Regions from separate parts of the Homo sapiens genome. Here region 1 is linked to region 2. The links are contacts of gene promoters, found by promoter capture Hi-C in human tissues and cell types (Jung and others, 2019). All regions are on one chromosome and are shown on one strand. The core of a region is centred on a gene start or on the middle of the fragment in contact, and the rest is flanking DNA. Distances in the headings are between cores, read along the strand shown. Region 1 overlaps BRINP1 (BMP/retinoic acid inducible neural specific 1). Region 2 holds the start of BRINP1 (BMP/retinoic acid inducible neural specific 1).

The links. Contacts are between HindIII fragments. The study calls those that stand out against the background at their distance.
Region 1: a contact is called between a fragment that was not itself captured here and the fragment with the promoter of BRINP1 in region 2, in 1 of the 25 tissues and cell types used here (liver).

The regions. Positions count from the first base shown.
Region 1 is chr9:119,312,947-119,318,508 of GRCh38, forward strand. BRINP1 (BMP/retinoic acid inducible neural specific 1) reads right to left here. Exons shown (of 8, transcript NM_014618.3): 2 at 192-459. The coding sequence starts at 409. Among named protein-coding and RNA genes, the nearest start is that of BRINP1, 54 kb to the right of the region's middle. The HindIII fragment of the contact is 6,268 bases long and covers 616-5,562 here.
Region 2 is chr9:119,367,537-119,372,743 of GRCh38, forward strand. BRINP1 (BMP/retinoic acid inducible neural specific 1) reads right to left here and starts at 1,899. Exons shown (of 8, transcript NM_014618.3): 1 at 1,520-1,899. RefSeq lists enhancers at 1,298-1,819, 1,820-2,342, 2,343-2,863. The HindIII fragment of the contact is 11,628 bases long and covers 1-5,207 here.

The DNA of each region.
Region 1 (5,562 bases), core at 2,500-4,999, 53 kb before region 2:
TTTGATCCTCTCCTTGTCATTGTTAATCTCTTGTGCAAAGAAAAAAAAAATTAATCAAAAACAGCTTGTGGAAGGAGCACAGACCCTTGACCCAGACACTTCTGCACACAGCAAGGTTTGCACCAATCAACGCCTGACTCCACAAAGCATAATATGAATGTAAGGCAAGGGCTATTTAGCCCAGGTCTTACCTGTATATTTTATATCTGGTTGTAAATCCTTGACGGTGTCTTTCCACAAAGGATAGGTAGCTCCTGGAGTGGTGGAAAGGCCCCCTGTCTGAAATGAGCCAATCAAATTCCTTGGAGACATGTTGGTCTGTCCCAGCTGGTTCCTGGTGGGAGGGCTGCACTGAGATACGGCCCCATATAAACAGGAAGTAGAGGAGCTCAACAAACCTCCAGTTCATGCTTTTCTGCCGGCCTTTTTCCTCTCATTCTTGCTCCATTCTGTGGAGTCCTATAGAAGAAAGAATAAAAAAGAGAGAGAAAAAAAGAGAAACCAAAAGAGAGAGAGGAGAGGGGAAGAGGAGTAAAAGAAAAAGACACAGGAAAAGAAAAAATGTGATTAACACATCTTCATAATAATACCTTATATCAGTAGAGTGCTTTAAAGTTTATAAAACCCAGTACAGTTCTGGTTAAAAACATAGAATCTATGGAAATCTGGGCCCATGTTCCCATTTTGCTGTTCACATATTGTCTGAACATGTACAAACTGTTTGGTCTATTATGGATGCAGTTTTCTTGGAAGTAAAACTGAGGGTGAGCTTACGAGCCTGTATCTTGGCACTTGGCACATCATGGATGCTCAAGGAAGATGTGTTGAAAAAATGAATAAATGAATTAATGCAGAAACAGAGTCTCATACACCCAGTAAGAGACATAGGGACACAATTCAAGTGAGTGTACCCTCTTCTGTCTTCACTAACAACCTGCCTCTCATAAAGAGGTATCAATAAACAAGAGTTCCTTTTCCTTCTCTCAGCAGGCATGTATCCACTGAGCACACATTTTGCTTTTGCATGAACAGATGAATGCACAAAGTCTTGTGATGGATTATCATGACTATCTAGGTTGAATACTTTAGAGACGAAGAGTTCATGGAGCTTGCTTACAGTTCACTTCTGCAACGTTCAATGGAATGTCTCCCAAACCCAAAGAAACATGGCCAGAGAATTTGTCTTTTGGTGACTCAGCCTCAAAGGTTGCCCAGGGTTCAAAAGGAAAACTGAAGGCGGTCATTTTGTCAGGGGGTCTCGCATGCTTCTTTTATTAGGGGGTCTTATGGCACAGTGGTGCTGCGAGGGTGAAATGCTTAAGCCTAAGGGGTAGCTTTGGTAGAGAGGTACCTTGTGGAGAGGATAGACCAGAAATCACAAGGCCATGCCAATTTTGTAAACACAATTTACACTTTTTGTTTAGTTTTGTTTTGTTTGAGACGGAGTCTCACTCTCTCACCCAGGCTGGAGGGCAATGGCACAATCTCAGCTCACTACAACCTCCGCCTCCAGGGTTCAAGTGATTCTTCTGCCTCAGCCCCTCAAGTAGCTGGGACTACAGTCACGTGCCACCACACCCAGCTGATTTTTGTATTTTTCATAGAGATTGGATTTCACTATGTTGGCCAGGCTGGTCTCGAACTCCTGACCTCATGATCCGCCCTCCTTGTCAGTCTACTTACTCGCTTAACTGTATGTGACCCCACCCTACTTATTCTAACAGAGCTTCTCTTACTCCATATTGAAAGGCAGCTTTAAATCCACTTTGTATCTGTTAGAAACAGTAATATTTCAGGTCATGTATTTAACTTTCCTGACATTCAGTTTCCTTATCTGCAAAATGTGGTTAATAATAGCACCTACACTCAGAACCAAGATGACAATTAAACGACATAATTGCTCCCTCTTGTGCCTGGCATACAGTAAGTGCTCAATAAATGTCACGTATCATGATGAGGATAATGATGATGAATGTCGATACTGATGTCAACTTATTCCCTATGACAGTGTTTTTGTTCACCTGATCCCCACTGCCTGGCCAAACCCTGTTTAAATCCTTCAATAGCCAGCTGAGATCATGTCCTCAGAGGTCATTTTCTTTTTTTATTAATTTAAAAAAGCGTTATTTGTTTACTCCTCTGAGCTATAGTTGCTCATTTTCTGTAACTGCATTTTAGCCCTTATCACCTTGTATTATGCTTACAGGCATACTTCATTTTATTGTACTTCACTTTATTGAGATTTGCAAATATTAAAGTTTTAACAAATCGAAGGCTTGTGGCAGCCCTCAGCCTAGCCAGTCTGTTAACACCAATTTTCCAACAATGTGTGCTCACTTTGTGTCTTGGTGTCACATTTTGATAATTATCAAAATATTTCACACTTTTTTATTATTATTGTATCTGTTATGGTGGTCTGTGGTAAGCAAACTTTGATGTTATTATTGTAATTATTTGGGTGCACCATGAACTGGACCCATATAAGATGGCAAACTTTATCGATAAACCTGTGTTTTCTGACTGCTCCACTGACTAGCTATTCCCTTTCTCTCCCTTTCCTCAGGCCTGCCTACTCCCCGAGAAATAATAACACCGAAATTAAGCCAATTAGTAAACCTACAATGACCTATAATTGTTTAAGTGAAAGGAGGAGTCCTACATCTCTCACTTTAAATCAAAAGCTAGAAGGCATGGCAAAAGGCAAGATAGGCTGGAAGCTAGGGCTCTTGCACCAGTTAGCCACATTGTGAATGTGAAGGAAAAGTCCTTTAAGGAAATTAAATGTGCTGTTCCAGTGAACACATGAATGATAAGAAAGCAAAACAGCCTAGTGTTGAATGAAGAGAGTTTTAGAGGTCTGGGTAGCAGGTCAAAACAGTCACAACATTCCCTTAAGCCAAAGCCTAATTCAGAGTAAGGTTCTAACTCTCTCCAATTCCATGAAGGATGAGAGAGATGAGAATGCTGCAGAAGAAAAGTCTGAAGCCAGCAGAGGTTGCTTCCTGAGGTTTAAAGAAAGAAGCCATCTCTGTAACATGAAAGTACAAGGTGAAGAAGCTAATGCTGATGGAGAAGGTGCAGCAAGTTATCCAGAAGATCGAGCTTCAATTATTGATGAAGATGGCTACCCTAAACAATCTATTTTCTTTCTTGTTTTGGAGACAGGGTCTTGCTCTGTCGCCTAGCCTGGAGTGCGGTGGTGCAATCTTGACTCACTGCAACCTCCACCTCCCGGGTTCAAGCAATTCTTATGCCTCAGCTTCCCCAGTAGCTGAGATTACAGGTGCACGCCACCATGCCCATCTCATTTTTTGTATATTTAGTAGAAACAGGGTTTCGCCATGTTGGCCAGGCTGGTCTTGAACTCCTGACCTCAAGTGATCTGCCCGCCTCAGCCTCCCAAAGTGCTGGGATTACAGGCGTGAGCCACCGTGCCCGGCCAACAACCTATTTTCAATGTATACAAAATAGCTTTATATCTGAAGATGTCGATGATTTTCATAGCTAGAGAGAAGTCAGTGCCTGACTTCAAAGCTTCAAAGGACAGACTGTCTCTCGTTAGGGGCTAATGCAGCAGGTGACTTTAAGTTGACGCCAAATGCTCACCTACCATTCCAAAAATCCTAGGGCCCTTAAGAGTATGCTAAATCTACTCTGCTTGTGATCTAAAGCCTGGATGACAGCACATTTGTTTACAACATAGTTTACTGAATATTTTAAGGCCATTATCCAGAACTACTGTGCAGAAAAAAAGATTCCTTTCAATATTATTGCTCACTGACAATGCATCTAGTCACATAAGGGCTCTGACAGAGATATACAAGGAGATTAATGGTGTTTTCATGCCTGCTGAAACAACATCTATTCTGCAGCCCATAGATCAAGGCATGATTTTGACTTTCAAGTCTTATTGAGAAATACATTTCATGAGGTCAAGAGATCGAGACTATCCTGGCCAATATGATGAAACCCCGCCTCTACTAAAAATACAAAAATTAGCTGGGCATGGTGGTGCGCACCTGTAGTCCCAGCTACTTGGGAGGCTGAGCCAGGAGAATCGCTTGAACCCGGGAGGCGGAGGTCGCCGGGAACCAAGATCGCACCACTGCACTCCAGCCTGGTGACAGAGTGACATTCCATCTCAAAAAATAAAATAAAATAAAGAAAAAAGAAATACATTTTATACTGCTATAGCTGCCATAAAAAGGGATTCCTCTGATGGATCTGGGCATTGCACATTGGAAAACTTCTGGAAAAGAGTCACCATTCTAGATGCCATTAAGAACATTTGTGATTCATGGGAAGAAGTCAAAATATCAACGGTAACAGGAGTTTGGAAGAAGTTGATTTCAAACCTCATGAATGATCATGAGGGGTTCAAGACTTCAGTGGAGTAAATCACTGTAGATGTGACAGAAATAGCAAGATAACTAGAATTAGAAGTAGAGCCTGAGGATATGACTGAATTGCTGCAATTTCATGATAAAACTTGAACGGATGACGAGTTGCTCCTTATGGATGAGCAAAGAAAGCAGTTTCTCAAGATGGAGTCTACTCTTGATGAAGATGCTATGAACACTGTTGAAACGACAACAAAGGATTTAGAATACTACGTAAACTTAGTTGATAAAACAGTGGCAAGATTTGAGAGTACTGACTCTGGTTGTGAAAACAGTTCTACCTTACGTAAAATACTATCAAACGGCATCACATTCTACAAAATTATTTCATGAAAGAAAGAGTCAATTGATGTGGCAAACCTCATTGTTGTCTAACTTAAGAAATTGCCACTGCCACCCAGTCTTCAGCAACCTGACCACCCTGATCAGTCAGAAGCCAACAACATTGAGGCAAGACCTTCCACCAGCAAAAAGATTTTAACTCACTGAAACTTCAGATGATCATTAGCCTTTTTTTAGTAATAAAGTGTTTTTAATAAAGGCATATACATTGTTTTCTGAGACACACTGCTATCCTACACTTAATAGGCTACAGGATACTGTAAACATAAGTTTAATATGCAGTGGGAGGCCAAAAAATTGGGGTGATTCAATTTATTGCAATATTTGCTTTATTGTGGTCATCTGGAACGCAACCTACAAATCTCTGAGATATGCCTGTATTTGTTTCTATGTCTGTCTTGTTCATTGGGCTGTAAGCCTTTAACTGGAAATGATCTTTAGAAAACTAGCTACTCTCGCTCAGCTGCATGACTGTGGACAGTCATGTCCCCTCTCAAGACCTCAGATTTTTATGTCTTCCATGTGAAAATGTGGTGAGGACACAAACAATTTGTCAACTGTAAACCCATCTATATACATGATTAAATATGACACCTCATTTGTCTACTTTTCCAGCTGAATATGAAAGATAAAGCAAAGCTGAGAAAGAGAAAAAAATTTAAAAGAGAAATGTGATTTATTGCCCAGTTGGTTATTTCTCTCTGTTGCCCATTGCACTGTTTTATCATGAGTCGCTACAAAAATCTGCTTGTCACTGCAAGTCTCAGTTGTCAGGGGCAAAGGAGAAAGGTACATGAGCAGAGGAGTGAGCTGGCAAAAG
Region 2 (5,207 bases), core at 649-3,148:
CAGAGCCCAAGCCCAACAGTACCAAGCCAGGGTGGCCAAGGGACCTACCTAAAGAGCCTCCCAGGAGATGGAGGAAAGAAGAAAGAGGGCCTTGACCCAAACTACCTTCCTGGCTGAGATTCCTCCACCGCCCCCCTGCCCTTGGCAGTATTTTGGAGCCAAGTGAGAGACGCGAGGTGCAAACCGACAGCAGTTTAAGTCAATTACTGCCACATTCTGTCATGGGTTCCACACTCACAGCCCCTTTTCAAATTGTAGATCTCCCTCAGTACTGAAACACTCTCTCTCTCTGTCTCCCTCTCTCTCGCTCTTGCTCTCTCTCTCTCCCTCTCCACCTCTCTGCCTTCTCTCAATATCCCCCTAACTCCAGGGGAGCCATGGAGAGGCATATTTAGGGAGAGACTCTCTGGGGGCTTCCCCGCCTGAAATGGGGAAAGAAAGACGAATCTGTCTTAGGAAAGTGCCCCATCCATCTCCTTCCATATCATCCACAGCCGCCCCAGATGAAATTTCCTCTGAGACCCTTTGCAACTGTGATGGATGAGCAAGTCCCCGAGGACGCTTTCTCCTTTCCCCTGAGGGGGATCCATGCAAACTTGCCAGATCCTCCCCAAAACCAACAGAAGCCGGAGGGGCTCTGTTGATTGCAAACGGGGATGCAGGGTAAATCCCTATCCCAGACTTTCCAAGCCCCAGATAAGGAGCCCACCGCTGACTTCCCCCTTTCTCTGTCACCCACTATCCAGTGTCTCCAAATTCCCATCAGAATCTTGGAGTCTGCCCAGTGTAGAATTTAAAGTGACAGCGTCTCATTTGCCTCGGGGGTTGGCCATGTCTCTTTCATATTAAGCTGTGGGTCCCAGTGTAGCAGGATTCCACCGTTTGGAGGAATTTTCCTTCAAGCGTACCAACATTGGGCTAAATAAGGTGCCATCTACAGCCCCATAATCCTCCCCAAACCCCAAGCCCAGAGCCCCAAGAGGAAGTCCACAGCGGGTTTCCCGGTGACTACGTGATCCTATAGTAAGGGTCCCATTCCGTGTAAGCTGGAGAGACCTAATTAAAAAGACACACGAGGGCACACATACAAACACATACGTACAAACATGCACACACACATCGCGCCGTAAGTAGGTTATAGGACCTCTCTCTCTTCACCCCTCCCTTACACACACGGACACACACACACACCACGAACACACGCATCAAACGCAAACGACGCCGCACACGCAAACACACTAGCACCACATCAAGTTCCCACCATGGTGCACACGTCGGGAGCGCGCGGGGACACACACGCCACTCACTCAAACCCGCAATTAGCCCTTTGAGCCCCAGGCACAGGAACCCCCTCCCTAGAACTGGAGAAGACTTGGAGGCGGCGGGGCGGCCAGGTGAAGAGCGGACAAGGGTGCCGGTAGGGGGAGGGGCAGAGGAGCGCGGGGACGCCCCGAATGCGGCCCGGGGCCGGGTCCAAGGGCAGCGGGGCTGCGGGGCGCTGCACCCGGCGCCGCCTTACCTGGAGTCAATGTCCGTCTTTGGCGGAGAGCTGCGGGAGGACGCTTTTTATTCGGCTCGGTGGGAACTTGGGAGAGCCCTGCGTGCAGCTCGCATTCCGGGCACGGCGCGGGGACTGCAGGCGTGGGGGTACCTGGCTCCTAGCAGCCTGGCTCATACTCAGCCGTAAAGTCCCCTTCGCTGGTCCCGAGGACAGGCATGAATCCCGGCTCCGGAAGGCGGTCACTACTCCCTCTGCCTCCCGGCTCTCTCGCTCTCGCTCTCGCTGTTGCTCGCTCGCTCTCTCCCTCTCTCGCGGGTTCGCTCGCCTGCGCTCTCCTCCTCCCCGCGCGCCAGATCAGTTTGCAGCCGTGGGGTCCGGGAGCGAGGCGGCTGGCGAATGGAGAGGGAAGTCCAAGTGCGCCGCGGTCTCCGGGCGGGGAGCGGCGGAGGCCGGGCTACGCCGGGGGAGGGACTTAGCCGGCGACGGCCGAAAATGAATGGGGGAGCGGCGGCCGGGGGGCGGGGAGGGAGGAGCTGAACGCCGGGGTTGCTTCCGAGGAGTGTTTTGTACATCTTTAGGCGGAGGAGGAGGAGAAGCGAGAGGAGGAGAGACGGGAGGCCGCCTCGAGGGAAGGGCGGCCCGGGTGGGCTGGGGCTGAGCCGTAGGGAGTTTCGTGGGTCTGGGGCGTGTAGGGTGTTGTGTCTATGCGCACGAGCATCCAAAGGGACCGCGCATACGCGCAAACCCGGAATCCTGGTGCCCTTAAGCGTGACTGTACTGTGTGTGTCGCGAGTACCTGAGTGTTTCTGGGGCGGCAGGTGTTTCCACGGCCGCGTGGATCCATCGAGTGTGGGTTTTGTCTCGGGAGTTGCCCGTGTGGGTCCGTTTGTGTCTGCGCGTCTCTCTGTGAGTGTTTGACACTGTTTGTTTCTCTCGGTGTGTAGGCGAGAGCCCACGTAACCTCCCAGAATGAAGCAAGAGCTTCTCTACGTAGGCAGGATGTAGGAGGGAGAAGCTGAGGGGACACGAAGTTCTCTGGAGACCACCAGAGGCGGGGAAGGGGCGAGGGTACAGGGACTAAGACATGAAAATAAAAAGCAAAATACTCTGCAATCAGCCTGAATGCAGGCTGGGGCTGCTAACATAGGGCCTCTTCCTGAAGCAGAAAATAAAGCCCTCGTATGATAATTCCCACACAGCGCACATTTGGTATGTTTGTTTACTTTGCTTCCCTTCTGATTTAAACCAAATCAGCAATGCAGATCCCTAGTCCCCTGAAGATTAGGCAAGAATAGAAAGCATTAAGGCTACCAGATGGAGGGGCAGGAAGTCATAGGAAAAGGTGTTGGAATATGTAAAAGAGCCAGATTCAGTAGAAGTGCAGGCTCCAGAGAGGTTGGAGTCCTGTAGCTGTCTGGTCTTGGTGAAATCACTTACCCCTTAAGCCTCAATTCCTTGTCTGTTTAATAGAATAATAATATATCTACCCATCTAATAGGGTTGATGTGGAATTGTAATGAGTTAATATATGCAAAGGCACTTAGACTGCTCATGAGTTAATGTATGCAAAGGCACTTAGACTGCTCCCTGACACCTAGTGAGTGCTCAGTGCATGTTGTCTGCTTTTATGATTGCCATTGTATGTTTTTTGTTTGTTTTTTAATTCAAAGGATGATAAGAGAGAGATGTGACCACCAGGGAGGCCTAGAACAATCTAGGAGCCAGTGAACTAATTGGAGGAAGAGGAGTCTTGAAACAAAATGGAAGAGAAATGTTTGAGTGATGAACTGGGAACTCGGGAAAAATTATTTAATCGACAAAGAGAAAGGGAGAAAGAGAGGAGAAGACATCGAGCTAGCCAGAATGATCCTGGGTCTCAGAAGGTCAGGACTGAGGGGAGAGGAAAGGGAGAGGAGGAGCAGCCAGTGCAGAGCTTCTCAGCCTTCACTGGAATCCCAATGAGGAGGAGTCAGCACCACGGACAGCTCTCCAGCCACAAACCCAGTCAGCGATTTCTATTTTCGCCTGGTGGAAATTTCTCCCTTTTTTCTTGGGCAACTTTCTCTTTCCCTTGGCTTCTGGTCCAGGTTCAGGTCTTGAACACAGGTTCCCCAGGTCAGTTCTGACTTTGATTCTGACCACGAAGAAATACGCCCACCACACACACTCCTTCTCCCACCCACCGCGGTATGAAACCCCAGGTCACTATCTCTTGCCTCTCCTCCTTTCTTTCTTTTCTCTCTCTCTCTTTCTGTCTGTGCCCCATTCCTTCCTTTATTCGTCCCTATCTTTCTCTTTGTTTCCCCATCATCCCCCAGCTGAGATCTACTTCCATGACTGTTAGTAGGCAACAGCTGCCCTGCTGATAATGCAGTTCTGAAATCAATCTGAGACAACGTAGTCAGGCAACTTCAGGTGAAGACCAAAGTTCTGACTGATTCTTCTTAACCCTTTCCTTGTAATCAATCTCCCAAGATGGGTTGTGGTCTACATACCTTAGAAAGTGGGGACTTAATGCTTTGGAATACTGTCCAGTCTTTCTCTTCCTCACCCCACCCAGTCAATATTTCCCTAAAGAAAAAAAGAGCTCTTCTAGTTCCAACCAATACTACACAGAGAGAAAGAGGAGAGAGAATTTTGAACTTTTACCGTGCACCAAGCATTTTATTTGCAATGTTCTGAATATTATTGCTTACAGTTCTGAAAATACTTTGCAGTATGAATAGATAATACTATCCCATCTTTATGGCATAGGAAATTGAGTCTTGAAAAACTTGAGTATATGCCAAACTAGCTATATGCCAAAATATAGCTAGTAGGTGATGGAGTCAGGAATTCAACACCCAAGTCCAAGTCCAAAATCTTTATCCTCTGGGAATAATGGGGAAGCCCTGGGGTGATTGGAAGTTCTTGGAATTTTATGGGGTCACTGCACCCAACCCTAAATATCAACTTAGATGTCTGGATCCATTGCATTATCTGTGTCCCATCCCAATGGATGATTTAGTGTATCTTGTCCCTGGAGAAGGAGGTGAAGACTTTGCATGGACAGATTTAAGGCTCACTCGAGCCTTATGGTTTCTGAGTTTTGAATAAAATGCCAACCTTTCCAGGTCTTAGTTCATTTGCATTTGGCTCAGTTTAGCTTTCCTGTTTCTATGAAGAAAGGCTAAGAGGGCCATTTTAAAATGTCTCCGAAGACACCTTGGTCATCAGAAAAGTTCTCAGTGCAAAGCATTTCTAATGACTTATGGAGAATGCAATCAAAACCATATGGATAACATTTTTGCAGAAATACACACGGGTGGGAAAAGGTTTAGAGGCCAAAAATATATTTCTTTTTTTCTTCTTTGCCAAAGAAAGAACATTTAAGGCAGCTTGAGATATGTGAGAAATGTCTTGTTCTTTCTTTGGGGTGGGTGTTGGTGAGCAGCTGTTTGCTATTTCCACCGAATTTACTAAGGGCTTCCATGGGGAGGAGCTGCCAACAGATTAGGATAGACTTAAGAAAGAACTTCCTGTCTGTAGATTTTGGGGTGACACTAAAATAGGACCTTTTGTACAATGGCATTTAATAAGAAAATGGAATGTTTCACAGCATTTCATTCATAGTATGATAGATTTGAAAATCAATGGATAATATTTTTAATATCACAGACTGTTTTAAGAACCTCACTATTGCTATAGACCCTCTCTGTTGTGGAAA